2 separate regions of the Homo sapiens genome follow, and region 1 is linked to region 2. The links are contacts of gene promoters, found by promoter capture Hi-C in blood cells and fetal thymus (Javierre and others, 2016). All regions are on one chromosome and are shown on one strand. Each heading gives the region's core, a stretch centred on a gene start or on the middle of the fragment in contact. The rest is flanking DNA. Distances are from core to core; before and after follow the strand shown.

Region 1 (5,033 bases), core at 1,864-4,363, 79 kb before region 2:
TGCAGTGGTGCAATCTCGGCTCACTGCAACCTCCACCTCCCAGATTCATGCCATTCTCCTGCCTCAGCCTCCCGAGTAGCTGGGACTACAGGCACCCACCACCATGCCTGACCAATTTTTTGTATTTTTAGTAGAGATGGGGTTTCACCATTTTAGCTAGGATGGTCTCAATCTCTTGACCTCGTGATCCACCCGCCTTGGCCTCCCAAAGTGCTGGGATCACAGGGATTCTACATACATTTTTTATTGGAAAAAAGGATCCTCTTGCATAAAAGATAATTTGACAACCAGTAAATTCAGCCAACGGGTCCAGAAGTGTCGATTCTACTTCTGGGGTCATCTATCTATGAAGATGGTGGTGGCAGCAGGCAGAGCTCTTCAGAACCTCCACTGGGAAGGAATGAGGTTCCCAAGAACACAAAGACCAACCTGACTTCTTCCCCAACACACACAAACACACACACACACACGTTGCCCACTGGCTTCTTTCTAAATTGGTCAGGCATGGGAATTGGGGTGCATAGACGAGGGGGGCTCACTTGTCATTCTTGTCTGTAACATTAACTCGGGCGCCTCGCTGCAGCAGCTGTGAGCAGATAGCTGCGTGCCCACCCAGCGATGCGATCATCAGGGGTGTACGTCCATCCTGCACAGATTGTAGGAAGAGGTTCATGAGCAGCCAGGGACTGCAGAGGCTTGACAATCCTACCGGCTCCCCTCCCCTCACACCTGTCCAAAAAAAATAAAAGCCCAGATCTTGGGTCTGAACACTCCCTTTTGGAGGGTTAGAAGCTCTCCAGAAGATAAGGCTTAACCTCTCTGTGAGGAAGAAGAGGAGAAGCAGGAGGAGAAGGAAGAGAAGGGTGGTGCTAACACAGCCCTAGGTCGTGGAAGTTGGCCAGTCAAGCTGAGAGACAGCAGCAGCCCTTCTGTGTAGGACACTGCCCACTTGCCCATCTGACACTCACATTATCCAACACGTCCAGGAAGGCTTCGTGGTCACACAGCAGGAGCACACTTGAGGCACAGCCAGAGGAGGCTGGGGAGAAGATGTTTGGGTTAAGGGGAAGCATGAAGAAAGCCTACTCAGACTATGACCCAACATCCCCTCCGACCATTTCATTGGTTGGCCCTGGCTGCCCTTCCCTCCTCACGCCTCCCCTTTCCCACCCTGTAGTCTCTGCAGCCCTGTTCCCATGAGTCCCCTGCACACACCTGCCCAGTGCAATGGACTACGGTTTTCTGCATCCACAGCATCTTCATTAGCACCATGCTGCAAATGGCCACAAAGGGAAGCAGCATGGAGCTTGGTGTTAACATCCTCATCCCATACCCCCATTGGGTCACCAATTTCCATGGTAATATGAGGAGGGGCAGGAGGTCCACTTTGGAGAAGGCTATCTACTAGGCAAGCCCAGTTCATCCATTGCTGATGATAGGCAGCCTTGAATATCAGCCCTGGTTTCTAAACCAAGGGGCTAAGAAAAATCAGATGGTAATAAACGTGTTAGGGAAAATGACACCCAATGTCCCCGTGGCTGGTACTTTAGAAACATAATTGTGAAATTTGGAAAGGATTAGGAAGAACGAAAGTAGAACATCCATTTGCCTGATGGCCGGTTAAGATAACTGATTTTTTTTTTTTTTTTTGAGACAGAGTCTCTCTCTGTTGCCCAGACTGGAGTGCAGTGGTGCGATCTTGGATCACTGCAACCTCCGCCTCCTGGGTTGAAGCGATTCTCCTGCCTCAGCCTCCCGAGTAACTGGGACTACAGGCACGTGCCACCACACCCAGCTAATCTTTTGTATTTTTATTAGAGATGGGGTTTCACTGTGTTAGCCAGGATGGTCTCGATCTCCTGATCTTGTGATCTGCCCACCTCCATCTCCCAAAGTCTGGGATTACAGGCATGAGCCACCGCACCCGGCCAGTAACTGCCTTTTGTGCTTTTGGAGACTCATTTATAAATGATCCACATGTCATTTTACATGTATATTTCTCTTTATACTACTAGACTATAAACTCTTCAGAAACAGACAGTAGGGCTTTGGTTTAATTTGAACATCTCTGTCCTCCTTCCTCTTGCCCCTCATCATAGCAGGAAGTCTCTGCAGTGGCTCTGCTAATGACAAAATCGATAGTGCCTGGCAACTCTGCTTTATAACCTGCCCTCAAAGGCACTATCAAACATGGTGCCTGCACATAGTAGTTAAATAAATGTTGGCAAACAAATGATTATCAGCCCTCCTATTGGGGATGAGGCGAGTACATTTGGCCAACTATTCCTTTTAAGTATGAAATGAAGTTAGAAAACTCTGGGACCACTTCTTCCCTTCATAAGAGTGGTATCAAGGGACTGCTCTTACCTGAAGCAGAACCTTAACACACTGTGGCTGGCAGGAGATGGTGGCCAAGTGTAGGGCAGTGCTTCCTGGAACAGAAAGAAGGGGAGAAGGAGGGTAGGTGGCCCCATGCATGCTGATGACTCACAGGGAGGGAAGGCAAGAGACGCACAGATAATCAGGAGATTAGGGAGAGAAGCTTTCAGCCACACGGGGCCAGAAATTCCTGTTCCCCAAGTGCCTGGTACCTGTGATGAAGGTGGGAGTGGGGGTGAGGTGTGCCCAGCTTACGGGGAGGGGAACTCCTGGAAGGATGCTGGCCAGAACTTACTAAGGAGAGAAGCAAGGGGCCACAGTAGGAATGTCCAGCAGGGCCCAGCACCGCCCCCGACTGCTGCTGTACCAGGGGCAAGCAAGCAGCGTGGCCCAGTGCTCCGGCTCACTCACCATCCTCATTCTTGCTGTTGATGTCAGCCCCATTTGCAAGCAGGATAGTCAGACATTCTGTCAGGCCTTTGGAGGCTGCCAGATGAAACCTGCCAGAATCAAGGCCGAGAGGCCAAAGGATAAAGGGACCAGGGATGAGGAATGGGAGAATCTTGATAAGCCCTTCTTGCTATGCTCCCTACCCCAAAGCCAATCCTAAAAGCAGGAAAAGAAGCTCCCCTAGCTTGAATTTCTGAGAAAGAGAAGTCTATATGGCCTCCAATCACAAAGGATGCTAAAAGCAAGGAAGAAATAAGAGCTACAGGTCTCAAGGAATCTCAGACTATTGCAGGGGTGTCTAGGGAACACATAATTACCTGCCTCTCTGAGCACAGAACCTTAGCGGAAGTGGAAGTGTCACAGAAAGAGTCAGCCAGAGCAGAGTGAAGGCTGGACATTCGAAGGCTTTGGGTAGAGACAAGGGATAACATTTCCTTTGACTTAATCACTACTCCCTCTAGCCATGTGACTCCCATGCTACCACTTCATTTCAAATTTCCCATGCATACACACCCTCCTACTTGTGCAATGAAGAAACACTCTACTTAGTGTATATATTCATTTTCTGTTTGTTTAATGGGCTTTATGTACTTTACAAGTCAGTGGTGTCAATCTGGGTTGTGCAATGGATGGAGCTCAGGAACAATATTTTCTTTCCTCACTTTGTGTAGAACTTATATGTAGCAAAAAACTATTGATATACTTGCTAATTAAGACAATGAAAAGAGCTCTGAAGTTGTAGGCATTCCCTGGTCCTATGTTATATTGGATTTGGGGGCTTCAAAAGGGAGCCACATGTAAGGGGCAGGGGCAGGAGGACTGACTTACGGGGACTGGCCATTCGAGTCAAGCTTGGTGGGTCGGGCAGATTTCCTGGAGGCCAGGGCAGCCACGCGTCCCACATCCCCCCTGTGCACTGCCTCCAGCAGCTTCTGATCATGGCGGTTCCATCTCTCCACCTGGTCCAGAGCCACAGGTTGTGTGAATATAGGGCATGAGGGTAGTGTGGAGAAAGAAAAGAGGCAAATGGTTAGGATGCCAAATGAGAGAAAAGGAACATCCCTTTTTCTCTTCCACAAGTCACACATCCTAGATCATTTAGTCCTTCTTAGGTGGGCCTAGCTAAATCTTAACCAGCTAATATGCCACCAAGAACTATTGCTGGTTATTTCCAGCCCTGAGCCAGAAGGACCCTGGACCACTGAATTAAAAATCATTTGAGTGCTGAATGCACAGTATTTCAAATGTCCTTTTGTCATCATGATTAGAGTTGTTGTTCAGTGCCCAACCTCAGAGCAATCCTTTCCCTTTTGCTCTCTAGGTCTTGCTGGAGCAAATGGAACCAACGTGACCACTTTTGAGGACTCATGTTGCCTCTCACCACCGCCTCCACCCCTGAAACCCTGCTGCTCTGCTTTTTGTTGTCAGTTGTTTGAGAAGTACATTAAGGCACCGAGCTTCAGGTTACAGCTAGGAGTTCCAATACCTAACCATTCCACCTCTTTTCATTGGCTTTGGGCCCCACAGTTAAAAGAGGAAACTAGAGTTTCTGTTTTCCCATATCATATCTAGGCCCTTTGGCGACCGTCTCTCTCCTTTCCATGGCAACAACAACCAAAAGGCAAAGAGGTTTCTAGTTATGTTTGAGGAAGCAGCAAGAGGTAGCTCCCCTTCTCCTCCCTCCCAGTTTCCCTGGCAGGGAGCAGCTGTCTAGACAACAGCCACACCTGGGCATGCATTGTTCTATCATTCCAGCTTGGGTTTTGTGGGTGGTAGGGTAATTATAATAATTGAAGTGTTATAGGGCATAAAAGAGACAGCTATGTAAAAACACCCAGGGCTGAAAGTACAGAAAAGCCTGGTTTTGTCCAGAGAAGGGAATGAAAAGGAAGAGACAGATGCAAAGATCTGTGGTCTGATGTAAAGGCTGCCAGACAAATATTTCGCTGGCTGGCCTGAGTTTGGGACCTAGTTCAGCTACATTCTCGGCTATGTGACCTAAAGTAAGCCATTAAACACCTTTAACCTGTTTCCTCTTCTATAAAATACGGCTAATAACAACTACCTCATCATGCTGTGACTATTAAACAAGCTAATATATACAAAATCTCTTTATAAACTGTAAAGAGCCATACAAATATATGGCATCCTTGTAACAAAACAGGAAGTAGTGGGGTGTTGGTGGTGGCACATAGCATTTTATA
Region 2 (5,412 bases), core at 1,794-4,293:
GGGCTGGCCTGCTTTACTACACCATTAATCTTTATACATGCTCTGTAATGTAAACTGTGAGCTCCATCAAGATAGGGACTAAATATCTGCCTTGTCCACCACTGCATCTGGTGATCAATAAATATTTGGTAAATGAATGAAGAGAACAGATGAAGCATAGAGAGATTAAGCAACTTCTCCAAGATCACACAGCCAACTATTTGACAGGGCTAGGTCCTCTGATTACAAATCCCATGCACTACAAACTTATCAAGATCCTACAGAATACTGAGCTGTGTGTGTATCTTGGGTAAGTGGGTGAGGGAGGCAGATAAAGGACAGGAAAGCTTTTTAAAATAAATAAGTAAATACATACATACATACATATATACATACATACTGATAGCCCACATGAGTGAAGGTAGATCTAAAGACTGATTGGAAAAGGTGGATTTGGAGCATTCAGGAAGAAGATGAAGGATGTTAATTGAAGATGATGTGGTAAAGCATTGCTGGATGAGGGAATGAATTGTCTAGGCAGAGGCTAAAGTAAATTGTATTCAGGGGAATACAGCCATTCCCCCAAATAACATGCCATCAGTCACAAGGGTATGTGAATATATGCCAGTGGCAGCTTTGCCTAAGAATTGAAGCAGAATAAGTGATTCCATGTGGTAAAGGACTTCTGAGCCAAATGGGCAGAGATTCTGCTTGCCTGAAGCTGAACTATCTGCCAGACTTTCCTAAAGTACTGGCTGGACACTCAGACTGGAAATGAGAAACTCAAGAATAATGAGAAAGACTGCGATGGGAGGTGGGGAGATAGGAAAGAAAATCACCACGAAGTGTGAAGCCTGATTAATTGCCCTTTGTCAGTACAATCCCCTTGTTCCCTCATCCTTGCTAAGGAAATGAAAGTTTTTACAGGATGTCCAGTTTGGGAGCCAAAGCAGAGGCTCTCCAGGTAACACAGACAAGAAAAAGGGTGTACTCTTCTATAATTTTAATAAATGCCTGTAAGTTGCCAAGAGGAAGGCTTCAGATTTAGTGTGACCACTCTAGGCTACTCCTGTGCCCAGAGGCAAAGACCTTCCCTTGATCTTGACTTAGAGACTTGAAGCAGCAGGATAGTAGCTAATAGCAGTTCCATCACATAGCCTTGTTAAATCTTGGGATTACATTGGAAAAATAGTATTTCCTCATGAGTTTCAGATTCATCCATTTGTATCCCCAGCACCTAGCAGAGTTCCTGTCTTATAATAGGAGTTCAAATTGTATGAAGAACAAAGGGAAATTGATGATGAATGAATCATTAGGCACATATAGCAAAATGGCTCTAAAAATCTGTTTTCATAGGAATTTTTGGGTTTACATTATTAGGATTTAAGAGTGGGAAAAAGTGAAGCATGTTCTACTTAAGGAACTATGAACCAACAAATTTGAGATAATAATCATTTTTAGGTTATATGTCATTTGCAATGTCTCAGTCAATCCATATTGTAACCCTTGAAGAAACTGAAGCTCAGTGAAATTAAGTCCCTTCCCCAAAGATTTGGCTGGTAAGTGACAAAGATCTCCAAAGCCTGTGTGTGCTCTTTTCACTAAACTTTCTTAAAAAAAGAAAATCTACAGAAAAGCCCTGTAACTTTTCTCTGTATTATTGTTAAACAGAAAGTTAAAGATATAGTCACTTCCAGGTCAGGCAGGACCTGGCCAAGCAGACAGAAGGGATGTCTTGTAAATTCCAGGCTTAAATTCTGTATTCCACACCCTTCACTATATATTCCTTATTACTTACACTATAAATCTGGAACTCAAACTCAGACAGGAAACTACCCTAGTTAAACGAAAACAACAAAGAAAACCCTCACATCCCTCTTTCCAGAAATTAACGAAGTTTTCTAACTGAAATAGAGTTTCTAACCTGGCACATTTCCACAGAATTTAACATTGAAAGAGCCAAGGCCTGGGATTTATCCTCAGTTCCTGGGCAAGGGCCAGGAAAACACAGCCAGACAGAAAGGCTGGAGTTGTGAGTCTCCATACTAAAAAAGATACCAAAGTAAGGTACTGAGCCACAGGAAGCTGCTGTGAGTTCAGTGGTACAGGTCCGGATTTAAATACACAATTACTATGAGTGACTTGTGAAGGCACTACCTAGTTCCCCAGTAAATCTGAAGTTGCACTGAAATTTCAGAGTGAAGGTAAGTAAGTAAAGAATTTAACAGTCAAGGTTAAGGGGCTGGAGCAAATTAACAGGTGAGTCCAGGAATTGCAGAGATCACAGAGGAAAGACTGAGAGGGTATGGATGAGAAATTGGATCTGAAATAAAAGACAGGATCCCACACAATGAGGACTGGTTCTCAAAGGCAGAGAGATGTTAAGGTATTAAGCTGGAGGAGGAATTCCATTTCTAAAGGAGAAAAGCTTAGGAAGAAAAGAGGATTGTATCTGAAAAAGAGTCCCTGGAGAATATATTAATAACTCAGTAAAGGGGAGGAGGTAGGAGGCTTAAACGTGTGTATGAGTGTGTGCGTCTGTGCGTGTGCGTAGCCCAGAAGGAAACTCCCCAAAAGGAAATGCATGTGAGGGCTCCACGCCAGGAAAAGCGATCCGGAGGACTGTGGGAGCAAGGCTCCCTTACAGAGGGTGTCGCGCAGGAGGCCAGACCCGCAGACTCACCTCGGCCATAGCCCTGCGTGTGCTTGGCGAAGCTCCTCACCACGGCCTCCACGGCCTCTCGCAGCACTGCCGGGCTGCCGGCGGCGCCGGGGGGCAGGGGTAGTCCTGGGGCCCCAGACAGGAGCAGCGGCGGCGGGGGCGGTGCGGGAGGCGGCGGGGCAGGCGGGGGGCCCGCAGGGGGTGTGGCGGTGGCGGCCGCGGCCCCAGTCACTCCGGGCCGCAGCGCTCGGAGAGTGCCCCTCCCGCTGGTGCCCACACCAGGCTGCAGCCGCTGCGCTCGCATAGTCTCCATCCCGGCCGCCAATGGAGTAGCGCCCCGGAGCCTGCCAGCCTGCCGAGCTAACGGTCCCAACCACCCCAGTCAGCTAGCGCCTGGGGACTCAGGGCGGTGCCAGGGCCGAACCTTCAGTCAAGTGGGGGCGGGGACGAGCTAGGTCCCATGCCAATCACCAGTGATGGGGCGGGAGCTGGAGGGCTCCTGCTCCGCCATAGGCAAATTATTGAGGAGGGTGGGGATTCTCAGAACCAATTGCAAAGAGAAAAAGCGTATCCTCTGAAAGGCAGACGCAGAGCTTCGGCGCGTCTTTGGGAGTCCTGTGGCAAGCACTAGAAAGCAGGACAGAATCTTGGGGCTGGGCTTGAAGAAAAAAATGGGCCTAGATGCAAGATTGGGGAGGATTGCAGACAGAGTAGAGATCATTTTGTCCTACCATTTCATTTCACAGATTGCAGGTGAGGATATTGTGGCTCAGAGAAGTAATTCGACTTGTCCAACATCATATGCAATTGGTGGTGGAGCTAAGGCAAGAAAGATACTGACATTTAATGAACATAAACTATGCAATGTACTGTAGTGCATGTCTTATTTACAATCACAATCACTAACTAGATTTTGTTATTTTAGGGATAAGGAAACAGATGCTGAGGGAAGCTAGAAAAATGGCCAAAATTAAATAGCTAAGAGATGGCAAAGTGGAATTCAGAGTTTAAGCATAGGTGTTCTGATTCCCAATATTTTTATCTTTTTACTATGCCACATTGTTGGGTAAATTTCTGAGTTCACTTATTCTAAGTAGAGGAAGGGAATAAGAGAGAGTGGGATGGGCAAGTCTCTTTGCCTCCCATTAGAGTGAGAAAGAGTTAGGATACATGCAGAAAATTAGCAAACTGAGAAGTCCAGTTGGGGGAATTAAGAAAATTACCCTTGTTGGTATAATATGTCAGACTGGGTTCCTCTGATTACTTTGCACACACACACACACTTGCACACATGCACACACACACACTCTACATACCCTTTATCATGTGGTCACCAGGCCATTTTTGCTTAGGTGAGATTATATTAACTGCTTCCCCCCATCTCTCCTACAGTGGCTCAGAAATCAAAGATGGGGAAATAGAGGCCAGAAGTAGAAGAAAATAGAAGAAACACACTTGGTGAAATGAAAATTAGACCCTGAATAAAAACTGTGAGTAGTCAAGAAATAGGAAGTTTCAAAAGGAGACAGTTAATCTACTGGGATATATCTGCTGATGATGGAGGGAGGAACTCTTTGTAGGAACCTTAAAGAATTCAAGGTTGGACATAGAGGAAACTGGAGGAAATGAAATCCTGTCAAATGCCTTAAAATCTTCAGGACACAGGACACTTGCCTTTTCTCTATAGAAAAGTTGGTTTCTTGGAAAGAAGGTGGCTGGAACAGCTAAGTATCCCTTGGATAATTATAGCTATAAGTTAGTGTTACCCTCCCTCCCCATTCCTCATTCCCCATACCCACACCTCCAGGCAGAAGTGACAAAACAGAGACTTCTGAACACATTTATTTGATATGTCAAGTGGAGAGAGGAGTGATTTAGGGTTTCTCCCCACTTCTACCTGTGGGGGTGTTCATAAGCTCAGACAGACAGAAGAGCAGCTTAGAGCCCATGACCCACCCCCTGGGAAAATGAGACAATCTGTTGTAGTTGTTGGAGGAACAGGGTGGGAATAAAAAGCAGGAAGTTGAGAAGTGAAGTTGAGAGCAGTAAAGACAGCAGCAGAACTGAGGCTGGGGGTTGCTGCAGGAACCCCCAAGAAGAGTGAAAAAGATATCCTGAAAAGTGGTTGGGGTTAGAAGCAGGGTGTGAATAAGGAGCCAGGCCTGGAGAAAGAAGCAAGACCTGCAGAATGGGCTGGGATGTCCACGGAGAGAGTGTGCAAAATCATGATAGGCTGTGTTTCAGGGCATACATGGAAAGCAAGGGATTGCTTCTGCAGGAGGGCAAAGACATCGGAGACTGCCCATAAGTAAGGGTTCCCTACTGCTTCTGAACAAATGCAAGAGAGTTTGGGACCCTAGCCCTGTGTGTTTATTGATATGCTGTGCCTGTAGGTACACAAGTAATCCCATATGCATGTGAAATGACCAGGGCATGAATACATGTGTGTATATACCCAGTAAATAGAGTACTTATTCTTTCTTGCTAATAAGAGTACTGTGCTTATGGACACATGTTTAACCATGTGTGGGTGCACTGTGCACCCATGAGCACATGCAAGAGATCCCTTTGTTCGTGGTGTGTGTGTGAGCTGGTTCTCCCACCTATCCCATTAAGGTCCTAATCCCCACCCTCCTTGGCTCCTCTCACTCCTCTCAGCGCCCTGGCTCCCCAGGCCCACCTAGACTCTGGAAGCCCCCCAGCAGGCGGATCTGCTCAGTCTGCATGGAGTGGCGTCTCACCAATTTGCGCTTGGTCCTGGGAGAGCCTGG

What was found. The method cuts DNA at HindIII sites, captures the fragments that hold promoters and counts their contacts. A CHiCAGO score of 5 or more calls a contact.
Region 1: a contact is called between a fragment that was not itself captured here and the fragment with the promoter of LIX1L in region 2, in 2 of 17 cell types (erythroblasts and monocytes). The highest score is 9.4, in erythroblasts.

Annotation. Positions count from the first base shown.
Region 1 is chr1:145,875,601-145,880,633 of GRCh38, forward strand. It overlaps ANKRD35 (ankyrin repeat domain 35), which reads right to left. Exons shown (of 14, transcript NM_144698.5): 2 at 3,658-3,788; 3 at 2,791-2,879; 4 at 2,368-2,432; 5 at 1,216-1,273; 6 at 969-1,039; 7 at 540-646. Among named protein-coding and RNA genes, the nearest start is that of ANKRD35, 7.7 kb to the right of the region's middle. RefSeq lists an enhancer at 2,248-3,231. The HindIII fragment of the contact is 1,138 bases long and covers 2,545-3,682 here.
Region 2 is chr1:145,954,974-145,960,385 of GRCh38, forward strand. LIX1L (limb and CNS expressed 1 like) reads right to left here and starts at 3,044. Exons shown (of 6, transcript NM_153713.3): 1 at 2,663-3,044. The coding sequence starts at 2,954. It overlaps ANKRD34A (ankyrin repeat domain 34A), which reads right to left. Exons shown (of 4, transcript NM_001039888.4): 4 at 4,468-5,412. The coding sequence ends at 5,296. RefSeq lists silencers at 2,699-2,978, 3,009-3,098. The HindIII fragment of the contact is 5,249 bases long and covers 2,410-5,412 here.